Linked DNA regions of Homo sapiens: regions 1, 2 and 4 are each linked to region 3. The links are contacts of gene promoters, found by promoter capture Hi-C in blood cells and fetal thymus (Javierre and others, 2016). All regions are on one chromosome and are shown on one strand. Each heading gives the region's core, a stretch centred on a gene start or on the middle of the fragment in contact. The rest is flanking DNA. Distances are from core to core; before and after follow the strand shown.

What was found. Contacts are between HindIII fragments. The CHiCAGO score rates a contact against its expected background, and 5 or more counts as called.
Region 1: a contact is called between a fragment that was not itself captured here and the fragment with the promoter of SASH3 in region 3, in 1 of 17 cell types (non-activated CD4 T cells). The highest score is 6.0, in non-activated CD4 T cells.
Region 2: the fragment with the promoter of INTS6L here is called in contact with the fragment with the promoter of SASH3 in region 3 in 1 of 17 cell types (total B cells); the score reaches 5.7 in total B cells.
Region 4: a contact is called between a fragment that was not itself captured here and the fragment with the promoter of SASH3 in region 3, in 1 of 17 cell types (M0 macrophages). The highest score is 9.5, in M0 macrophages.

The regions. Positions count from the first base shown.
Region 1 is chrX:123,963,409-123,968,940 of GRCh38, forward strand. The region is part of intron 1 of STAG2 (STAG2 cohesin complex component); the gene reads left to right. Among named protein-coding and RNA genes, the nearest start is that of STAG2, 4.5 kb to the left of the region's middle. The HindIII fragment of the contact is 7,160 bases long and covers 1-5,532 here.
Region 2 is chrX:135,518,363-135,523,114 of GRCh38, forward strand. INTS6L (integrator complex subunit 6 like) reads left to right here and starts at 2,298. Exons shown (of 18, transcript NM_001351601.3): 1 at 2,298-2,741; 2 at 2,879-2,956. The coding sequence starts at 2,631. INTS6L-AS1 (INTS6L antisense RNA 1) reads right to left here and starts at 2,312. Exons shown (of 2, transcript NR_046740.1): 1 at 2,205-2,312; 2 at 1,721-2,010. RefSeq lists enhancers at 2,452-2,531, 2,562-2,621 and silencers at 2,872-3,141, 3,202-3,401. The HindIII fragment of the contact is 2,771 bases long and covers 1,738-4,508 here.
Region 3 is chrX:129,776,404-129,781,329 of GRCh38, forward strand. It overlaps SASH3 (SAM and SH3 domain containing 3), which reads left to right and starts at 3,546. Exons shown (of 8, transcript NM_018990.4): 1 at 3,546-3,751. The coding sequence starts at 3,695. It overlaps LOC124905215 (a long non-coding RNA gene), which reads right to left. Exons shown (of 2, transcript XR_007068328.1): 2 at 2,172-3,876. RefSeq lists enhancers at 427-516, 3,297-3,456, 3,707-3,786, 3,837-3,896. The HindIII fragment of the contact is 655 bases long and covers 3,435-4,089 here.
Region 4 is chrX:123,861,281-123,866,632 of GRCh38, forward strand. All of the region lies in intron 1 of XIAP (X-linked inhibitor of apoptosis), which reads left to right. Among named protein-coding and RNA genes, the nearest start is that of XIAP, 3.9 kb to the left of the region's middle. The HindIII fragment of the contact is 1,936 bases long and covers 655-2,590 here.

The sequences.
Region 1 (5,532 bases), core at 1,896-4,395, 5.8 Mb before region 3:
AGGCTTGCTCTCATATACTTTCCGATGAACAGTGGGGTTAATTTTCAACATTTTCAACCACTTAACGTTAAAATGCCTGGTTTTCTTTCTACATTGATATCAATCTATAATTAGGGATCAGAAGGACCAGTTTAAGGTATATAAGTGTTCAGCAGTTTTTCAAGTGGTTGAATTGCAGTTTTATGACACATTATGTTAAATAGTCGATTTTTTTTTTTCATTTTGAACTAAGGTGCCACGTTAAGTAAGTTAATTGCAGATGTTTAAGTTCGTTTTCATCACATTTCCCTATTTGTCTTTTTAGGTATAATTTTAAATATGCCCTTTGGGTTTATGGACTTCATTAAAATTCTTAAAGATGGTTATATCTTTGTGTTTAACTGAATTCTTAAATTTATCACCTACCAAAGAATTGTGTAAGGCGTAAGGCGGCTGTATAGTTACATTGTTGGATTTTGACTTAACATGCTAGTTTTTGATACTTTTGCTATCTTTGGGTAGAAGTGTACTTAGAGAACATAGTATCTTCCTCTTAATTCTTTTTGAAGATAATAATGAGAGGAGGGAGTGGGTAGGAGGTAGGTGTGAAGCAGAAGTGGCCTTGAGTTGATTATTGTAGCTGGATGAATACAGAAGCGCTCATTGTTACTATTATTCTCTCTACTTTTGTGCGTGCTGTTAAACATTTCCATAGTTTAAGATAAACTTTTTTTGCAGTAGAATTTCCAGATTGTCTTACAGTCTTGGGGGTAATGACTTAAGTTTATATTTACATGTCAAAATTACTTGCATAGGAAATTTAGCCTTGTGTAAGTGATTACACAATGCTTGGCAAAACTTTCAAAAAAAAAAAAACGTTTAAACGGGAACTAGTATAAAACAGGCAACATAAATACTTATAAATTGGTTGAACTTTAAATGTTTATAACTTAGCCTGAATGTGCTCTACTTTTAGTTTCCTTTTTAATTCTTTGAAAACAGGAAAATTCCATTTGCAATTTTTGTAAATTCTGCTTAGTGTCTATTTCATCAAGTTGGAGTTACAGTGAGTCAGTATGAAAGGGATTTACTATTAATAGGAGGGGCTTTGGCAGTTGCAGTAAGTGACAGTGGAAGGGATTGAGGTACCATAGGGAGCATTCCTGGTAGAAAGATCTAGGTAGCTGAATTCAGTTTCAGAATTTGGTGTTTAATGACTAGGTAGAGAAGTGGGTTGGAAAAGAAATGTACTTATTAGCTATTCCTTCCCACTGTGAAGTAACTATAGTATTCTAAGGTGTATCAGAGACTGGCAGAGAGGGTGGAGTGGGTTTTTTTTTTTTTAACTGATAAGAAAATGAGTGTTTACATTTAAAATGGTTTAAATCACCTCATGCCCCAAGGATCTGGTGCTATAACTAGTTAGAAGTTGATATGTAAAATATTTCAATATTGTCTGTTAACATTCTGACCATTACCCGTAAACAGTAAAAATGTGTTGCAATGACAATCCTTGGTCTCCCTTAATTAGTGCATTTGTGAACTGCTCCTAAATTCTATTAAGGTAAGTGCCTTTTTTTTTTTTTTTTTTGGCAGTTCTATACTGTTCAGTGTCAGGTTTATTTTTTTCCCCCAGGAGATACATTTTAAAAATACATGTCACAGTTCCGAAAGGAATCCAAAACAATGGATATTTAATTTATAGCAAAATTTCACCCCAATCTGGGAACAGACATTTTGTAACTGTTACCATTAGTCTGTTTGTGTATTTCATATTCAGGATTTTAGCTTTAGAAGGATGTTAAAGGAAAATAGGTGACATATTTCAAATTTTTATTCATATACAAATATTCTTAGTAGATGGTAAGGATTGTGGCATCAGATTTATTTTATTGTGGTGAGGCAATAGCTAAACTACTACACTAACACATGATGAGTTTGGTAACTTTCAAGTATATTTAGTTAGGATTTTTTAAAGCCCAAATGCTCAAATAAGATTTTCATGAAATCAAATTCTACATTTCTTTTTCAACTGTATTGACTTCTGCGGTCACCTGAGGACTTATGAATTAAAGTGAATGGGATGGGCTTGGGGGACAGGCTAAGGCTCAGATCTATTCCTTTGGGAATTTAGGGTTAGATGTGAAAATATGCAGTTTAGTAATGCTTAATATTGTGCATGTTTAACTGATACCACCCACAGTCATATGTGGGAAGGTAGTAAACAGAGAATAGCATAATCTTTCTGCTTCGGGTTCTTTATAATAGATGGCAGACTTCAGTTTTTGATGCTGCAAGTTGACTTTTGAACTTAAACCAAAATCGGCGGGGCACAGTGGCTCACACCTGTAATACCAACACTTTGGGAGGCTGAGAGGCTGAAGTGGGGGGATCACTTGAGCCCAAGGAGTTCAAGACCAGCCTGGGCAACATAGGGAGACCCCATGTTTATAGATAATTTAAAAATTAGGTGTGGTGGTGCACACCTGTGGTCCCAGCTATTTGGGAGGCTGAGGCAGGAGGATCACCTGAGCCCGGTACATAGAGGCTGCAGTAAGCCACGATTGCGCCACTGCACCCAGCCTGGGCAACAGAGCAAGACCCTGTCTCAAAAAAAAATTAAAAATAAACTAAAATGTACAGTTTACTATATAATGGAGTACCGTTTTGGGAGTTGGGGAGAATAGCGAGGGAGAGGGATAGTTTCAGGTATGGGCATCAGTATATACTGAAGTGTGATTGTTGGAGAGTAAGGAAGGAACTTTAAAGACATAGGCTATTTTAAAAGTTTTTGGCTGGGCACCATGGCTCACGCCTGTAATCCTAGCACTTTGGAAGGCTGAGGCAGGCGGATCATGAGGTCAGGAGTTCAAGACCAGCCTGGCCAACATGGTGAAACCCCCATCTCTACTAAAAATACTAAAATTAGCTGGACGTGGTGGTGCGCGTCTGTAGTCCCAGCTGCTTGGGAGGCTGAGGCAGGAGAATCGCTTGAACCTGGGAGGCAGAGGTTGCAGTGAGCTGAGATCGCGCCACTGCACTGTAGCCTGGGCGACAGCGAGACTCCGTTTAAAAAAAAAAAAAGTTCTTAACATTTTTCTGCATTGGCTACATGTTCAGGACTTTAGTTCGTGTTTCAGTACTGTCCCTGTGTAATAATTCTTTATGTTTCTGGGTATCATAAATGATGGTTATTGCGTGTTCTGATTGGCAAAGATATATGATAAAGCAAAATTATCAGTTTGATTTTTCAGTCTCTTGAGTTGACTGCTTTACGTTTAATTTACCCAAATTTTATATTTCTTCAGTGTAAGTGGTGTTGCTTAGTGGAGTCTAATTTTTGTTGATGTGCCTTTTAAAAATCTATGCATCTTCAGCAGCTGTGGTAATCTGCTACCTGAATTGTGTTTTTAATGTGTGCTTGCTATAGATCTTTGATACTCACCAGTAGACACCAAGAAGTCTTTACATATGGTTATTGTAGTAAGTCAAGAAGAGATTTATTTATTTTTTGAGACGGAGTTTTGCTCTTGTTGCCCAGGCTGGAGTGCAGTGGCATGATCTTGGGCTCCCTGCAACCTTTGCCTCCCGGGTTCAAGTGATTCTCCTGCCTCAACCTCCCAGTAGCTGGGATTACAGGTGTCCGCTACCACGCCCAGCTAATTTTTTGTGTTTTTAGTAGAGACAGAGTTTCACCATGTTGGTCAGGGTGGTCTCAAACTCCTGACCTCAGGTGATCCACCCACCACAGCCTCCCAAAGTGCTGGGATTACAGGCGGAGCCACCGTGCCTGGCCAAGAAGAGATTATTGAAATTGTTTTCCATTCCTTCTGCCGAAGAAAGAGAGGATGAATAATGTCAATGGTGTATTTTTTTTTTTTTTTTTTTTTTTTTTGAGACGGAGTTTTGCTCTTGTTGCCCAGGCTAGAGTGCAATGGTGCGATCTTGGCTCACTGCAACCTCCACCTACTGGGTTCAAGCGATTCTCCTGCCTCGGCCTCCCGAGTAGCTGGGATTACAGGCATGTGCCACCACACCGGGCTAATTTTGTACTTTTAGTAGAGACGGGGTTTTTTCCATGTTGGTCAGGCTGGTCTCGAACTCCCGACCTCAGGTGATCTGCCTGCCTCGGCCTTCCAAAGTTCTGGGATTACAGGCGTGAGCCACTGCGCCCAGCTGGCCTATTCTTTTTTATTACAGTCATGCATTGCTTAACGGCGGGCATACCTTCTGAGAAATGCATCTTTAGGTGATTTTGTTGTGTGAGCATCATACAGTGTACCTACACACACCTAGATGGAATAGCCTACTATACATCTATGCCATATGGTATGACCTGTTGCTCCTAGGCTACAATCCTGTACAGCATGTTGCTGTACTGAATATCGTAGGCAGTTATAATACAGTGGTAAGTATTTGTGTTTGAAAACAAAAAAGATACAATAAAAATACGGTATAAAAGAAAAAATAGTACACCTCTATAGGGCAGCTCCCTTATAATCTTATGGGACCACTGTCTTTTTTTTTTTTTTAGATGGAGTCTCCCTCTGTCGCTCAGGCTGGGGTGCAGTGGCGAGATCTTGGCTCACTGCAACCTCTGCCTCCTGAGTTCAAGCGATTCTCCTGCCTTAGCCTCTCAAGTAGCTGGGATTACAGATGCATGCCACCATACCCGGCTAATCTTTGTATTTTTGGTAGAGACGGGCTTTCACCATATTGGTCAGGCTGGTCTCAAACGCCTGACCTCGTGATCCGCCTGCCTCAGCCTCCCCAAGTGCTGGGATTACAGGCATGAGCCACTACACCCAGCTGGGACCACCGTCTTATATGCAGTCTGTTGTGGACTAAAATGTCATTATATGGCACATGACTGTATTTTAATTGGGAAATACATTACTAGGCTTGATGAGACAAACTAGGGAGATTTCAGTAAGCTCTGCCTAACTTAAGGGACCATTCAAAGGTAAAATTTCTTTGTAAGAAATAAGTTGGCTGGGCGTGGTGACTCACCCTCTGAATCCCAGCACTTTGGTAGGCCAAGGTGGGAAGATCTGTTGAGCCCAGGAGTTTGAGACCATCCTGGGCAACGTAGGGAGACCCCATCTCTACAAAAAAATTTAACAATTAGCTGGGTATGGTTGTGCAGCCTGTGGCCCCAGTTACTGGGGAGGCTGAGGTGGGAGGATCACTTGAGCCCCAGCAGGTTGAGCCTGCAGTGAGCCATGATCATGCCTTTGCACTTCAGCCTGGGCAAAAGAGTAAGACCCTATCTCAAAAAGTTGTTTAAATTCTGTTGTACATCGTTCAAGGGGGGTGAAAAACAAGTCCTATTTACATTTTTGCAAGAATAACTTTTGAAACCTGAAGCATTCTAAGAAACTTAATTTAACTGCTATTTAAGTTCCTACTGAATGCCAGTAATGCTTTAATCTTCTGTTTAATCTTCTCAACCACTTTGCAGGATAGGTTGTCCTCATCATTTTACACGTGGGGAAATTGACGCTCTCAGAGAGTAAATGCCTTGTCTCAAGTCACATGGATTCACACTCAGAT
Region 2 (4,752 bases), core at 1,048-3,547, 5.7 Mb after region 3:
AACAGAAGGTGGACCTGAAGGTGGCCTCTGGTCACCAGCAACAGCCCCAAGGAAATGAATTCTGCCAGAAATCTGAATGAGCCTGGAAGCCAGTTCTTTCCCAGGTGAACCTCCAGATGAAAACAGCCTGGCTGACACGTTGACTGCAGACTTATGAGACTAAGTAGAGAACCCAGGTAAACTTAGACCTCTGACTCATGGAAACTGTGAGATAGTAAATGCTTGTGTTGTTTTAAGCCACTAAATTTGTAATAATTTGTTAAACAGCAGTAGAAAACTAACACACTGCCCCCAACAGTCCTATATTTTTTGTACCCTAGCCCATGTAGGCATTGCCCTTCTACACTGACATTTGTATCGGAATGGAAATGGGGGCTTCTAGTATCTTTTTCATCCTTATTTCTTCATTAATTCCCTACTTTCCACCAGAATGGCCTGAAATGCACCATACATAGTACTATCTTTGGCTGAGTTTTTGTTCATATCATTCCTTCCAACCCAGATTCCCTCTCTTCCCTTTTTGTGCCTTGTTCGTGAAATCCTATGAATTTCTAGACTGGACCATTGTTTCCATAGCACTTTTTAACTTGCATCCTTGTTTGTCCCTGATTCATATACTGCCATATGACTTCTTTTAAAATCGTATTTCTCTGAGAATGTTATTGAATGTGCATATATAATATATGAAACATATACACAGAACATACATATATATATAGAGAGAGAGAGAGAGAGAGAGAGTGTATATAAAATATATAAAATACTTTTTTGAGATGTTATCTCATTCTGTTGCCCAGGCTGGAGTGCAGTGGTGTGATCTCAGTTCACTGCAACCTCCGTCTCCTGGGTTGAAGTGATTCTCCTGCCTCAGCCTCCCAAGTAGCTGGGACTACAGGCGCCTGCTCCCATGCCCGGCTAATTTTTGTATTTTTAGTAGAGACGGGGGTTTCACCATGTTGGCCAGGCTGGTCTCAAACTCCTGCCCTCAAATGATCCACCCACCTCGGCCTCCCAAAGTGCTGGAATTACAGGCATGAGCCACTGCGCCTGGCCAAAATATATAAAATATTATGTATGTATATGTCATCATCTCTCCTCAATGAAACTGCAAACTCATTGAAGTCCTGGATTCCACATTGTCAATAGTAATTGCCAGGAATACACAAGTCCAATTTTTAAAATTGTGTCATATGAAGTAGTCAATCAAGTGTGGTTGGCCACTTACTGAGTCTCTTCACAGAGCCAGACCTGAGAGTATCCGTAATTGTTACCCTAACCTCAGGGAGCTGCATTTTCCTCTACTGAAAATTGAATACAATGCCATCTGCCATAATTAATTCAAAGATTAAACAAGGCTACCGTGGGTGCCTGGCTCTTCATAGGCACTCAATAAATGTGAGTTGAGAGCCTGCCCCTGTGGTCCCAGCTACTTGAGAGGCTGAGATGGGAGGATCGCTTAAGCCCAGGAGCTGGACGCTGCAGGCAGCTATGATGGGGCCACTGCACTCCAGCCTGGGCGATCAAGCGAGATCCTCTTTATTTATTTATAAAAATAAATAAATAAATAAATATGTGAGTTGAATCACAATCTAGGTTTGCAAACCTCCATGTGTAAAGGCTGCGCAGAGGGAACAGTGGTGGAATTATCACAGGCAGGCCAATGTTTCAAAGAGCTTAGTGAAACTGAAGAAGCTTGTGCATACAAAAGGCCAGTTTAGGTAACTGTAACTGTGTTTAAGCTTTAGTTTCCTTTCTAAGTAGATATATGTGGAATGCAAGGCCAGCAACCAACTCACAAATACTGATCAAGACGGGGGAGGGATCTAAAGGAATGTGAGTACGTCCTGCCAGGAAAGAAGTTTGCTGCTTCTGAAATATTTTCGTCTTCGCCACTGGCAGGATTGATCGATTGCAGTTAGCGAAGAATTTTCTGTGCAAACTGTCCAAGCATCTGCTTCTGTACTTCTGTACAACTGTTGCTCAAATTCACTCTTCTTTTCGAATCACCATCTTTGAAGAGAGACAGAAAAATCCATTTAAACCACCCGAACTAATCATTCGAACTGCTTCCAAGTCCTTTAAAGGAGAATCCTAGCGAGGGTCCGTAACACTTCCCCTTACCCTCTGCCTGGGTTCAAACTTCAACTCCCAGGGTTCGCCCAAGTCCCTCCCCTAGTCCTGTCATCTAATGAATATGCAAATACCACATAATTGGCAGCCAATGGCATGGGTTCTGGTCACATGGTGCCGATGGTAGGTGAGCAGACAGAAGTTGTCAGTGAACAGAGACGGCGCTCAGTCTGGGGCGAGCGCTCTAGTGAGCGCGGACGGATGCTTAGGCAGTAGTCCTGGCAGCGGCAGTAGTGGTGGCAGCAGAAGAGAGGAAGGGGGAGGGCCCCGAGGGCTACACACGCTCACACTTTCAAGTTCCCTTGGAGGGAGAGGAGGTGGGGCTGCAGAAAGAGGAGGCCAGGAGCGGTCCCATCCGTCCCGTCCCGTCCCGTCTCCCCCTCTTCCTCTTGCTCCTTGCTCCCCGGCTCTGCGAGAGTTGAGGGTTCAGGTGGCCGTACGCGGCAGTGAGGGCAAGAGGGCCGGGAGAGTGGGGAGCGGAGGCAGGAGTGCGGGGGAAGATGCCCATCCTGCTGTTCCTCATAGACACGTCCGCCTCTATGAACCAGCGCACTGACCTGGGCACCTCTTATTTGGACATTGCCAAAGGCGCTGTGGAGTTATTCTTGAAGGTAAAGGGAGGGGAGGGGAGAGATGGGGAGAGCTCCCGAGGGATTTCAGGGTGTGGATTGAGGTGCTTCTGTAACGTTTGTATCGCCCTCCCCCCTCCTTTCCTACGCGACCCCCTCCGTCATCCCTTGCCCCGCAGCTGCGCGCCCGGGACCCGGCCAGCCGTGGAGACAGGTACATGCTGGTCACCTACGACGAACCCCCGTACTGCATCAAGGTAAAGGGGCTACGGGTGGGGGGACAGGCGGGAAGCGGGAGCAAGTCGGCGGGGGCTGCTTACCCCCCTGCCCCCGCCTAAGGCGGTCCTGCGTCGCCCGGCGGGGCGGGCGGCGAGGGGGTGCGCAGAGGGCGGGCGGAGTGGTGCCGTCGGCGGCTTCGGAGTAGCTGTCGCGCCTGGGGTCGGGGAGAGGGGACCGGGGAGGAGCAGCCCCGGGGAGAAACCGCAGGAGGGCCGAGCTCGTGGCGCGACAACCGCAGCCGCCTCGGAACATGGCGGACATTTTGCTTTTGTATGAGCCTGCGAGAGGGAGACTGAGGGCGCTGCTGAGATGGAAAGGAGGGAGGGGAGGGAGGAGCGGGGAAGGAGGGCCCGAAACCCGGAGGGAGGCTGCGAGGCGGGCCCGCCCCTTCGAGGCGCACCGCGCGAGGGTCGCCGCGCGGGGGGCCGGACGGAGCCTGCGACTCCGCCCCGAGGTCCTGCCGGCCGGGCGCGCGGGCTTTCCCGGAGCCTGGGCTCCTCCTCTGGCCCCTCCTTCCTCCCCCGGTCTTCCTCCCCCTCCTTGGGCTCTTCGCTGCATCTCCTCCTTCTCCCCCTCTTCCTCCTGGTCCCCTCCCCTTCCTGCTGAGAGCGTGGCAGAGCCAGCCGCCGGCCTTCAAAGACTAGACAACCGCCTTTGCACTCGTTGGCCTCTCACCACCCCCGCGCAATCGGAAATCTGTCCGCGACGCCAGTCTCCCCACCCCCAGACCCGGAGAAAGTCTTTGCGTTTCTGCTCCGGAATTGGCCAGGTTCAGCCCCGCTCTCAGTTACCTTAGCTACTGTTACTGTTTCATTGGAAATTCCAGCGAAGCAACGACACGGAGGGGGACGTGCCAAGTGCGAACCCACAGGGGCAGAGCTTTTTAGGGATCCGCTCTACCTATTTACATCATAAATTAGGTTTGTGCTAGCCACGTAGGAATTAATCCAGGGACAAGAAAGAAAGGAAGGGGAGGACTCAAATGTGAGCATTTGTAATAGTCAAGTTCGATGATTTGATTCTGACCTACAGGAGAAAAGTAGGGAGGACGGTCTCTGTGGGGTAATTTATGTTCCTATGGTGAGGAGATAAAGAACTGCTGCTTTGCCTGCAGTGGCCAGATAAAATGGAATTTAAACTGTTAAATCAACCTGCATAAGAGTCCTGCTTGCATATTGAAATTTTAAAAATACTACCACAATCCTTGACGTCTTTTGTTAGGCTTTTTCTTTTTTCCTCAGAATAATCGTAATAGTGCTAGGGAGACGCAGTCTGGATGTGTTGTGATCCGTTTCTGTAGAGTGAGGTGTTTTAATGAATGGAACCTACCAAGCTGAATAGTTGGCCAAAGAGTGTTCCTTCAAGCATAAGGAAACCAAAGAGAAACTAATTTTGTAACTCGTAGCTTCGGTTAACTGTTTAATTAGTAGGTTCCCCTTAAAACTGTTCTTTTTTCGATAATTTGTTTTCAGTTTGTGATTCTATCCATTTAGAAAAGTGGAACAAGTAGACATCTTTCAAAATGCCGTAAGCTTTTTAAAAATGTCAGTTTTCCCAAAAGGATGTGATCATTTTTTTCCACATAGAAAAGGAGATGTTTATACATCCTAGGTCTGAATGTCTACACTCTTCGACTGCTAATACAGATAAGAACCGACCATTTGTAGTGTGGCCATTTGAAGACATGCTCCTTAATTCGAAGTAGTAAAAAAGATAAACCACAAAGCAGTGTGCCTTCTTTTCCTTAAAGGAACAACTTATTGGCCGGGTGCGG
Region 3 (4,926 bases), core at 2,296-4,795:
CAACAGAGTAAGACTCAAAAAAAAATTAAATTAAATTAAATTTAAAAAAATACTTGGAGTGTGCTGGTGTGGGAGCTGCTTTATCTGAATGTGGCCTACGATGACCTTTGTGTCTTTGGTAGTCCTACATCCACCCTCTGAGGGTTCAGGTTGATTTCACTATCAGTGGAACCCCAAAACACACACACACACACACACACATACACACCCTGCAATCCTGCAGTATTGGCGCTAAATCAAGGTTCTTCTGCCCCAAATCTATACTTCTGGATACGTCTTTATATTAAACTACTCGCCTCCAGGGGTTGTGGTGGGATTAAACATCTGTCAAGTGCTTAATGTAGTGCTTGGTAAAGAACAAGTGCTGGGTAAATGTAAGCTTGCCACTCCACCTAGGATGTCAGCTCCCAGGTACAAGGGGCCCTGATGGCTATTTATTTTGTACCTCCTCCCGAGGCCTAGCACAAGGCTGTGCCCACAGCAAGTTCCTAGGTTCTGCCTGCCGGCCCATTATCAAGTTTAAGGTGACCTTGTTCCCTGAACTACTGACTCGTATCACTTCCTTAGCTGAGAGCTCTGCGTACCTCAAACAACATAACCTGTAAAATGCAAATATGTTACCCAGAAGGGAAAATCTATTAAACACATGTTTAAGGGTCATTAGCCAGCAAGGACCTGGCCTATTGGGATTCAGCCAGGGCAATCTGTTGGAAGAGAAAAGCTGGGGGAAGGCAAGTCCCGATGGGGGGTCCTGGACACCCCGCCTCCACTGGCCCCGGTCCCCAGGTGGCGGGGAGGAGGTGTTCCTGAACAGAGGAGACAGATCTGAAAAGGAGAACGAAGGAAGCCGTTGAAAACACTTGCTCCCTTCTGTCCTGGGAGCTGGTCACCTCTCCATATTTCTCTCCAAGGCACCCTCACCTCCCTCTCGCTGCCTTTTCCCAAGCCTCGCCAGCCCTGTGCCCTGGTTTGCTGGCCGCCTTTGAAGGTTCTGCGGTTAGTGTGTGATCTTCTGTCGCTGCCGGCGCTGAGCAAACAGGAAGCGGGCACATCCTGCGAGGCGGCCAGGGACGCAGCCGCTGCGCAGGCCCGGAAGATTCTGCGACCTGCTTCCTCCCTCACGGCTCTGGCTCCAGGTGCCCCAGGCCACTACAGCGGCGTCCCCAATCCCAGAACCCTCTGGGGCTGCCCTCCTGCTCCTGGTCACGCAGAGCCCCAAAGGCCCGATGGGTCCCCTACACGGCTGCCAGGCTACTGTATATGCCGAAAAGCCTTAACCAGTTACCGCGCTTGCTAGTGACCCTGGGCCGCCTGGGAGGGACTTTCAGGGTGGAAAACACAGGCCAGTGGGAAGGAGATCTGGGGTGTGGAATCTTTTCATGAGTCTGCCTGGCCGACTGAGTAGGCCAAAGAATGTATGGTTTCAGCTTAGGGAAGAAAGATCTTATCTTCCCTGAGCTCACCCTGAAGGTTGGATGGTCAGAGGGCATAAAGCAGAATCGGAGAGGAAGTCACGAGAACATCTTGGGAACAGGGGTGGACAAGCCTAGTATTTCACAAGTACCACAGAATTGAAAGCCTTAAAAATGTGCATACCTTTGACCCCAGCAATTCCTCTTCTGGATATTTCCCCTACAGAAAAAAAACTATGGATGTGAATATTTACCATAAGTATGTTCAATGAATAATTTAAAAATTTAAGCCAACCCAAGTTCATCAGCAAGGGCTTGGTGAAATAAGCACGGCACATCCACACAATGGGATGTTCCACAGCCGTTATAAATTACGTAGTTGAAGACTATTTCATAGCATGAGACAATCTTGATACTGTGTTCAGCTGGACGTAGTGGCTCACGCCTGTAATCCCAGCACTTTGGGAGGATGAGGCAAAGAGGTCACTTGAGACCAGGAGTTCAAGACCAGCCTGGGCAACATGGTGAAACCCTGTCTCTACAAAAAATACAAAAATTAACCAGGGTGGTGGTACGCACCTATAGTCCCAGCTACTTGGGAGGCAGAGGCACAAGAATTGCTTGAACTCAGGAGGTGGAGGTTGCAGTGAGCCGAGATCACGCCACTGCACTCCAGCCTGGGAGACAGAGTGAGAGACTCCATCTCGAAAAAAAAACAAAAAAGATACTGTGTTTAGTGTGAAAAGCAGACACCAATAGTGTGAATTATGACCTTTTTTAATTAAAAAATTTTAAACAGCTTTATTGAGGTATAATGGAGCTACAATAAACTGCACATATTTGAAGTATACAATTTGATACGTTTTGACATGTGTATTCCCCCATGAAATCATCACCACAGTCAAGATAGTGAACATATTCATCACTCCTAAAAGCTTCCTGTTACCCTGTGTGATGTCTCCCTTCCCTTCTCTCCCCTCCCCTTCTCCCCAAACCAATTATCTGTTTTCTGAGCAGTATGATTTTTGTAAAAAGAAAAAAAATGTTTATAGACAGAGAGTAGATAGATGCTTAAAACAGTGTAGAGGACAATGATGGGAAATTTTGAAATTTTTTTTGTTTATGTGTTTGTGAAATTGTATGACAAATACAAGTTGCTTTTGTAATACCAAGAAGTTATTAAAGTTATTAAAATCTGCCACAGACAACCCACAAATTGAATATACTGCATAGGTGTTTGATAAATGCCTGTTGGATACTTGCTAGAGGTGTGGAGTTGGCTGTAAGTGCTTTTCAGCTGTGGTGGTGATAAATATACTCATGATGGCTGAGGGGTACTGACTGGAGGGGTGACTGCTCTAGTGATGATGGCTTTAGGTGTACTGATGGCTGTAGGAGTGATGGCTGCAGGGCTGATGGCTGCACGGATGTGATGATGGTTGTAGGAGAGATGACTGTAGGGACGATGGTTATAGGGGTGAGAGGGTCATGAGTGCGGTTGGCTGTAATGTCCAGAAGGGTGACAGCTGTAAGGATGATGGCTGGAAGGGTGATAGCAGCAATGGTGATGACTGTAGAGGTGATGGCTGAAGGATGTCAACTGTAGAGGTGATTACCATAGTGACAATGGCTATAGGTGTGCTGATGGCAGCGGGGATGGCTGCAGGCCTGATGGCTGTAGGGGTGATGGCTGTATGGTGATGGCTATTGATAGGAGTGATGGTAGCAGTGGTGATGGTCACAGGGGTGATGGTAGTGGTAGTGATGGCAGTGACGACCTTGAAGACGTGAGTTGACCGGGAGCATTGATCCAACAGGCAGCCAGATGGTCCAACTTCTGGTTTCTGGATTCTGGTCAGTGAGATAAAGGGCTTGGGTACGCCATATAATGTCGAGCTGATTGTCCACCTCTAGGAAGATGGAGCAGAAGGACTGATGATGATCGACATGAGACAACAAGGTAGGGACTTTCTCTGACTGTTCAACCCAAGAGCCGTCTGCATCAGAATCTCTGGAGACTGAAGCTTGGACTTCCTTCCTCCCTAGGGGCCGGCAGGGGCTGCGATTGCTGTAAGAGTAGGTCACGTGGCAGGGCTTCCTGTATGCTGCTGCTGCCGGGTGTCCATGGCCCGCACCCCCAAGCTGCCACTGCAGCAGTCAGAGTGGCAGCTGAAGGCTCGGTTCATGCCGTGCCCCCGGGCAGTTCTGGTGAGGCTAAGCAAGAGGCCTCTGCATCTTGACACCTAGGAGAGCAGGGACGGAGTCTCCCAGGGTGGAGGACCATGCTGCGCCGCAAGCCCTCCAATGCCAGTGAGAAGGAGCCCACTCAGAAGAAAAAGGTGAGGAGCATTTTGGGAACTCACATCTTCCTTTCCTCTGCTTGCTCGACCCATCCCTTCCAAGACTCTTGGAAGTGGGAAGAGCCAAAGGCCATATGTTGAGTCTGTAGGTGAGGGCCACTCACCTAGAAGGCAACGGGACAGGGACCCAAAGGTTAACAGAAGTACAGAAGAGATGTTTAAAATTCTGGAGCAACAGAGTTACAGAATAGATCCTTAGAAATCTAGAGTCATGCAATTCAACCCTAGAAGAATGGGAAAAAAGATCTAAAATTAGGGGCCAGAATCTTAGACTAGAATTTGAGAATAACAAAATACAATGCTTAAGCTGAACCCTAAGCTTGTACTTAACTATCTCTCCTCTACGCTGGTCCTGCTGCCACTTCTGCCCCGGCCACGGCCTCTCAGGAGCCATCTCACTCAAAGGGCCCTGCTGGGCTGCCCAGCTTGGAGCCATGATGCTCACAGGACTGCCACCCCCTCCTCCACTTTGGCCATGGCCCAGACCCTGCCCACTTGGCTCAGCTCTGTGGTAGCTCCCAGGCCCTACCCGAGATGGAGCCAACCTGGAGATGGGGGCCTGAGGCCATTCCAGTCTTGGGGGAAAAGGCATCCGGAAGTGCAGTGGGATGCAGGGGGCATACAGGTTCTTCCTGGGTGGGGAATGAGAAATTAAGTTGAGGTGGTGAGTAGGAGTGAAGGCTGAGGAGGGAGGATTTTAAAGGCCAGGAGGAAAAACAGCTGTCATGGATGGCTGAGGTGTTCATCCCCCTGGGGCAGAGACCGGACTGGAAGAATCCTTGAAGGCTGTGCCAGATCTAGGATTTTGTGGTTGAATTTGAGGATTTCCAGATTTCTTTGGTTGGGTTTGAGGATTTCTAGACCTAATTCTTTAATTCAATTGAAGGATTCTCCCAGACAATCAGCAAGTATATCCTACACATCCAATGGGATGCTAGGACAGTCCCAAAGCAGGCCTGAACTAGGTCCAAGAGGCCCAGGCTATCCCCCGCCAATTTTCCCTGGAACTCAGCCCAGGTGCCCTATGGTGGATCCCCCTTGTCAGGGGAGTAGCTCAGAGATGGAGGCCAAGGCAGCTGAAAGACTGAGACTCGGGGCAGTGGGGTGTGCATCCTGCCCCAGCTCTCAGGTCCTGGGGTGGCTGCCACTTCCGG
Region 4 (5,352 bases), core at 373-2,872, 5.9 Mb before region 3:
TTGCTCCATATCGCCTCCAAGCATGAAAATTAAATGTATTCAATTCAACACACATTTCTGAAGAGTATAATACTTTGTACCAGTGACTGTGGTACCACTTTCTATGTATTTCAATGTATTTAACATGCTTATGGAGTACTTGAGATTCCCCCCCACCCCCACATTCAAGAAGTGGCAACAGTTTAGATTTATACACACACCTTCACATGTACGTGTGTATACTTGCATTTGCTCAGATAGTTTCTTGAAGGATACACAATAAAAATGTTAATAGTAATGACTTATGGAGGAGAAGAGAGATAGAAGACTTTTTACTTTGTACTTCACATGATCTAATGTACGGTTTGAATTTGTTATAAATTCGTATTGATTTCATAATTGAAAAGTTTTAAAGTTCACACCTTCCCACACAAATATATATATCAACATAAGCAAGTATATACCAATGGTATGTACACATTTATGTGCATATATGTATTTATACATATCAGTGGTTTGTACTGTAAAATCCGGTATGATTCAGGTCAACTCAGCTGACAAAGCAGACCTCATTATTGGATACTCATGTTTCGTTTTCTTGTATTGCTCTCTCCTAATGTAAGATAGTAAAAATAATATGTTACTAGTCGTCATATATTTTTAGAAATTGTCCTAAGCTTCTTGATTATCAAATAATGTAGCAAACTTTTAACACATTTAAAATATCAAATCTGGGTACTTGCTTCAGTGGTAGCACATATACTAAAATTCGAACAATTCAAAGAAGATTAGCATGGTGTTTTTTTTTATCAATTAATTAATTAATTTTTTTTTTTGAGACGGAGTCTTACTCTGTCATCCAGGCTGGAGTGCAGTGGCCCTATCTTGACTCACTGCAGCCTCCGCCTCCTGGGTTCAAGCTACTCAGCCTCCCCAGTAGCTAGGACTACAGGCATGCGCCACCACGCCTGGCTAATTTTTGTATTTTTAGTAGACACCGGGTTTCCCCATGTTGGCCAGGCTGATCTCGAACTCCTGACCTCAGGTGATGCACCCGCCTCGGCCTCCCAAAGTGCTGGGATTAAAGGTATGAGCCACCTCGCCTGGCCAGTCCATTTTTTTTTTTTTTGAGACAGAGTTTCGCTTTTGTTTCCCAGGCTGGAGTGCAATGGCACCATCTCAGCTCACTGCAACCTCCGCCTCCCAGGTTCAAGTGATTCTTCTGCCTCAGCCTCCCAAGTAGCTGGGATTACAGGTGCCCACCACCACACCTGGCTAATTAGGTCCCTTTTTTTTAATAAACCACAAGAAAAATTTGACACCTGACGCTGTGGCTCATGTCTGTAATCCCAGCACTTTGGGACGCCAAGGCGGGCAGATCACCTGAGGTCAGGAGTTGGAGTCCAGACTGGCCAACATGGTGAAACCCCACCTCTACTAAAAAAACTAGCCGGGTGTGGTGGCGTGCACCTGTAGTACCAGCTACATGGGAGGCTGAAGCAGGAGAACTGCTTGAACCCAGGAGGCAGAGGCTGCAGTGAGCCGAGATTGCACCACTGTACTCCAGCCTGGGTGACAACAGTGCACCTTTGTCCCGAAAAAAAAAAAAATTGACACAAGGAAAATATCTGCAGCCTGGGCAACATGGCGCAGCCCTCTCTCTAATAAAAATACAAAAATTAGCCGGGCGTGCTGGCTTGTGCCTGTAGTCCTAGCTACTTTGGGGAGCTGAGGCAGGAGGATCACCTGAGCCTTGGGAGGTGGAGGCTGCAGTGAGCCATGATTGGGCCACTGTACTCCAGCCTGGGCGAAAGAGTGAGACCCTGTCTCAAACAAAACAAAGAAACAAAAATCTGAATTGTAGACTCTTTGTAGATAAGAACATATTTTTTAAAAAAGTTAAGACTAGGGCCAAGTGCGGTGGCTTTCACCTGTAATCCCAGCACTTTGGGAGGCTGAGGTGGGCGGATCACCTGAGGTCAGGAGTTCAAGACCAGCCTGGCTAACATGGTGAAACCCCATCTCTACTAAAAATACAAAAATTAGCTGGGTGTGGCGGTACACCCCTGTAGTCCCAGCTACTTGGGAGGCTGAGGCAGGAGAACCACTTGAGCCCATGAGGCGGAGGTTGCCGTGAGCTGAGAACGCAACATTCAACTCCAGCCTGGGCCACAGAGTGAGACTCCACCTCAAAAACAAATAAAAAGTTAAGACTAAAACAGTTTATAGTGATTAGGAGTTCAGCTGTCTAGTTTTGTTTTTGTTTTGAGATGGAGTTTCACTCTTGTTGCCCAGGCTGGAGTGCAATGGTGCGATCTCGGCTCACCTCAACCTCTGCCTCCCAGGTTCAAGCAGTTTCCTGCCTCAGCCTCCCGAGTAGCTGGGATTACAGGCATGCGCCACCACGCCCGGCTAATTTTGTATTTTCAGTGGAGACGGGGTTTCTCCATGTTGGTCAGGCTGGTCTCAAACTCCCGACCTCAGGTGAAAAAGTGCTGGGACCTCAGGTGAAAAAGTGAGTCACTGCACCTGGCCCAGCTGTCTCGTTTTTAGAAATAGATTAAGACTCAAAAAAAATATTGCCCACCGTAATATATCTGATTATTAGCAAAGCTTGGACTAGAGTCTAGGTTCTAGTCTAGTGGCCCTTGTACTATACCTGTAATTTTATTGCTTTCTAGTGCATTGGATGATTCCAACTAGGCTGACAAAGTAATAATATCTAAAGGTTAGCCAGGACCATTTCAATAGTTAAGAATTATTATTTTTTTCTTTGGTTTTTATTTTATTTTGTCTTCCTTTTTTTTTTCATTTTCAGGAAGTGAGCAGTTTCTCAAAATTATTATAATTAATGGACCAGCTAATTTGTATAGTGCTTAAAATATTTTAGTAACATAAATTTTACTAAATAAATTTACTAATTTAGTAAATAAATGTTCTCCTTTTATTTCATTGTAAACATTAATTTCTTTAGTAAATCCTGTATTTATATTGTAAATGTTTAGCGATAAAATAATGATATTTCACTGTTTTTGTTTGGTCTAATATTTAAGTCTGGTAGGTAGTATTAGCAGAGAGCAAAACCTACAGTTTATGAAATAAACATTCATTGAGCACTTAATGTGTTCCAGGCATTCATTGTAGTATGTGGTAGGATTCCAAGGATAAATATGGCAAAACAAATGCCTTTCTTCTGTTTTTTTTTTTTTTTTTTTTTTTTTTGAGACGACGGAGTCTGGCTCTGTTGCCCAGGCTGGAGTGCAGTAGCGCGATCTTGGCTCACTGCAGGCACTGCCTCCCGGCTTCACGCCATTCTCCTGCCTCAGCCTCTCAAGTAGCTGGGACTACAGGCACCCGCCACCACACCCGGCTTAGAGTGTGTGTGTGTGTGTGTGTGTGTGTGTGTGTGTGTGTGTGTGTGTTTTAGTAAAGACAGGGTGTCACCGTGTGTGTGTGTGTTTTAGTAAAGACAGGGTTTCACCATGTTAGCCAGGATGGTCGCATTCTCGTGTGTGTGTGTGTGTGTGTGTGTGTGTGTGTGTGTGTGTGTGTGTGTGTTTTAGTAAAGACAGGGTTTCACCGTGTGTGTGTGTGTGTGTGTTTTAGTAAAGACAGGGTTTCACCATGTTAGCCAGGATGGTCGCATTCTCCTGACCTCGTGATCTGCCTGCGTTGGCCTCCTAAAGTGCTGGGATTACAGGCGCGAGCCATCACACCAGGCCGCCTTTCTTCTTTTTTTTTTTTTTTTGCTTTTTTATGTTCGTCTGTTTTTATTTTGCTTTTGTGTGTTTGTTTGTTTTTCCATTGTTCTTTTGAGGCTGGGAGATTATCATGAGCTGTCAATTCTCAAGCTTTATCTCTGTGAGATAATCTGGTAATAGTTTTATAAAATGTAACCTGTTAGCACTATTAAAGGACATTGTGTGAGTAGATATGAAGAGACAAACAGTAGTGATAAGATAAAAAATACTTTAGAATTTAACAAATACTGTTTCTGTATCTTAGAGGTCATGTGCTACAGTGTTTGGAAAGAGCCCTACGTTGGGTACCACAGTACAGGTTATTGACTTTGTTTCCAATTAGCTGTGGGATTGTGCATGTCAATGACCCCATCTTTCTTTACATGTTCACATTTTTGATATGTTATTTTAGGTGTTGAATTCAAAACATAAAAAGGGTATTTTAAGGCCGGGCGTGGTGGCTCACGCCTGTAATCCCAGCACTTTGGGAGACTGAGGCGGGCGGATCACGAGGTCAGGAGATCTAGACCATCCTGGCACCCCTCTCTGCTAAAAAAAAAAAAAAATACAAAAAATTAGCTGGGCGTGGTGGCAGGCGCCTGTAGTCCCAGCTACTTGGGAGGCTGAGGCAGGAGAATGGTGTGAACCCGGGAGGCGGACCTTGCAGTGAGCCGAGATTGCGCCACTGCACTCCAGCCTGAGCTACAGAGCGAGACTCCGACTCAAAAAAAATAAAAGGGTATTTTGAATATTTTATTTTATTTATTTGTTTTTGAGACATTGTCTTGCTGTGTCACCCAGGCTGGAGTTCAGTGCATGATCCCAGCTCACTGCAACCTCCACCTCCTGGGTTCAAGTAATTCTGGTGACTCAGCCTCCCAAGTAGCTGGGATTACAGGCGTGTGCTACCACACCTGGCTAATTTTTTTTTTTTTGGTATCTCTTTTTTTCCCCTCGGAGACAGAGTCTTGCTCTGTCGCCCAGAGCTGGAGTGCAATGGCTGCGATCTCTGTTCACTGCAGACTCCGCCTCCTGGGTTCAGGCAATTCTCCTGCCTCAGCCTCCCGAGTAGCTGGGATTACAGGCGCACGCCACCACAACTGGCTAATTTTTGTATTTTTAGTAGAGACGGGGTTTCACCATGTTAACCAGGTTGGCCTCGAACTCCTGACCTCGTGATCCACCCACCTCAGCCTCCCAAAGTGCTGGGATTACAGGTGTGAGCCACCACACCCAGCCTTTTTTGTATTTTAAGTAGAGACAGGATTTCACCATGTTGCCCAGGCTGGTCTTGAACTCCTGACCTCATGTGATCTGCCCGCCTTGGCCTCCCAAAGTGCCAGGATTACAGGCATGAGCCACTGTGCCGGCCTTTGAGTATTTTAAGTTATAAAAGAAATATGTGTTTCTATATATATTATATAATATATATTATACATGATATATAATATATATGATATAAATTATATTATATACAATATATTATATATGATTAATATATAATATATGATATATCATATATAATATCAAAATATATAATATGTATATAATAATGTATGATATATATAATATAGTATATAATATATTACATGTATAATATATTATATATAATATATAATACAATATATGTAAA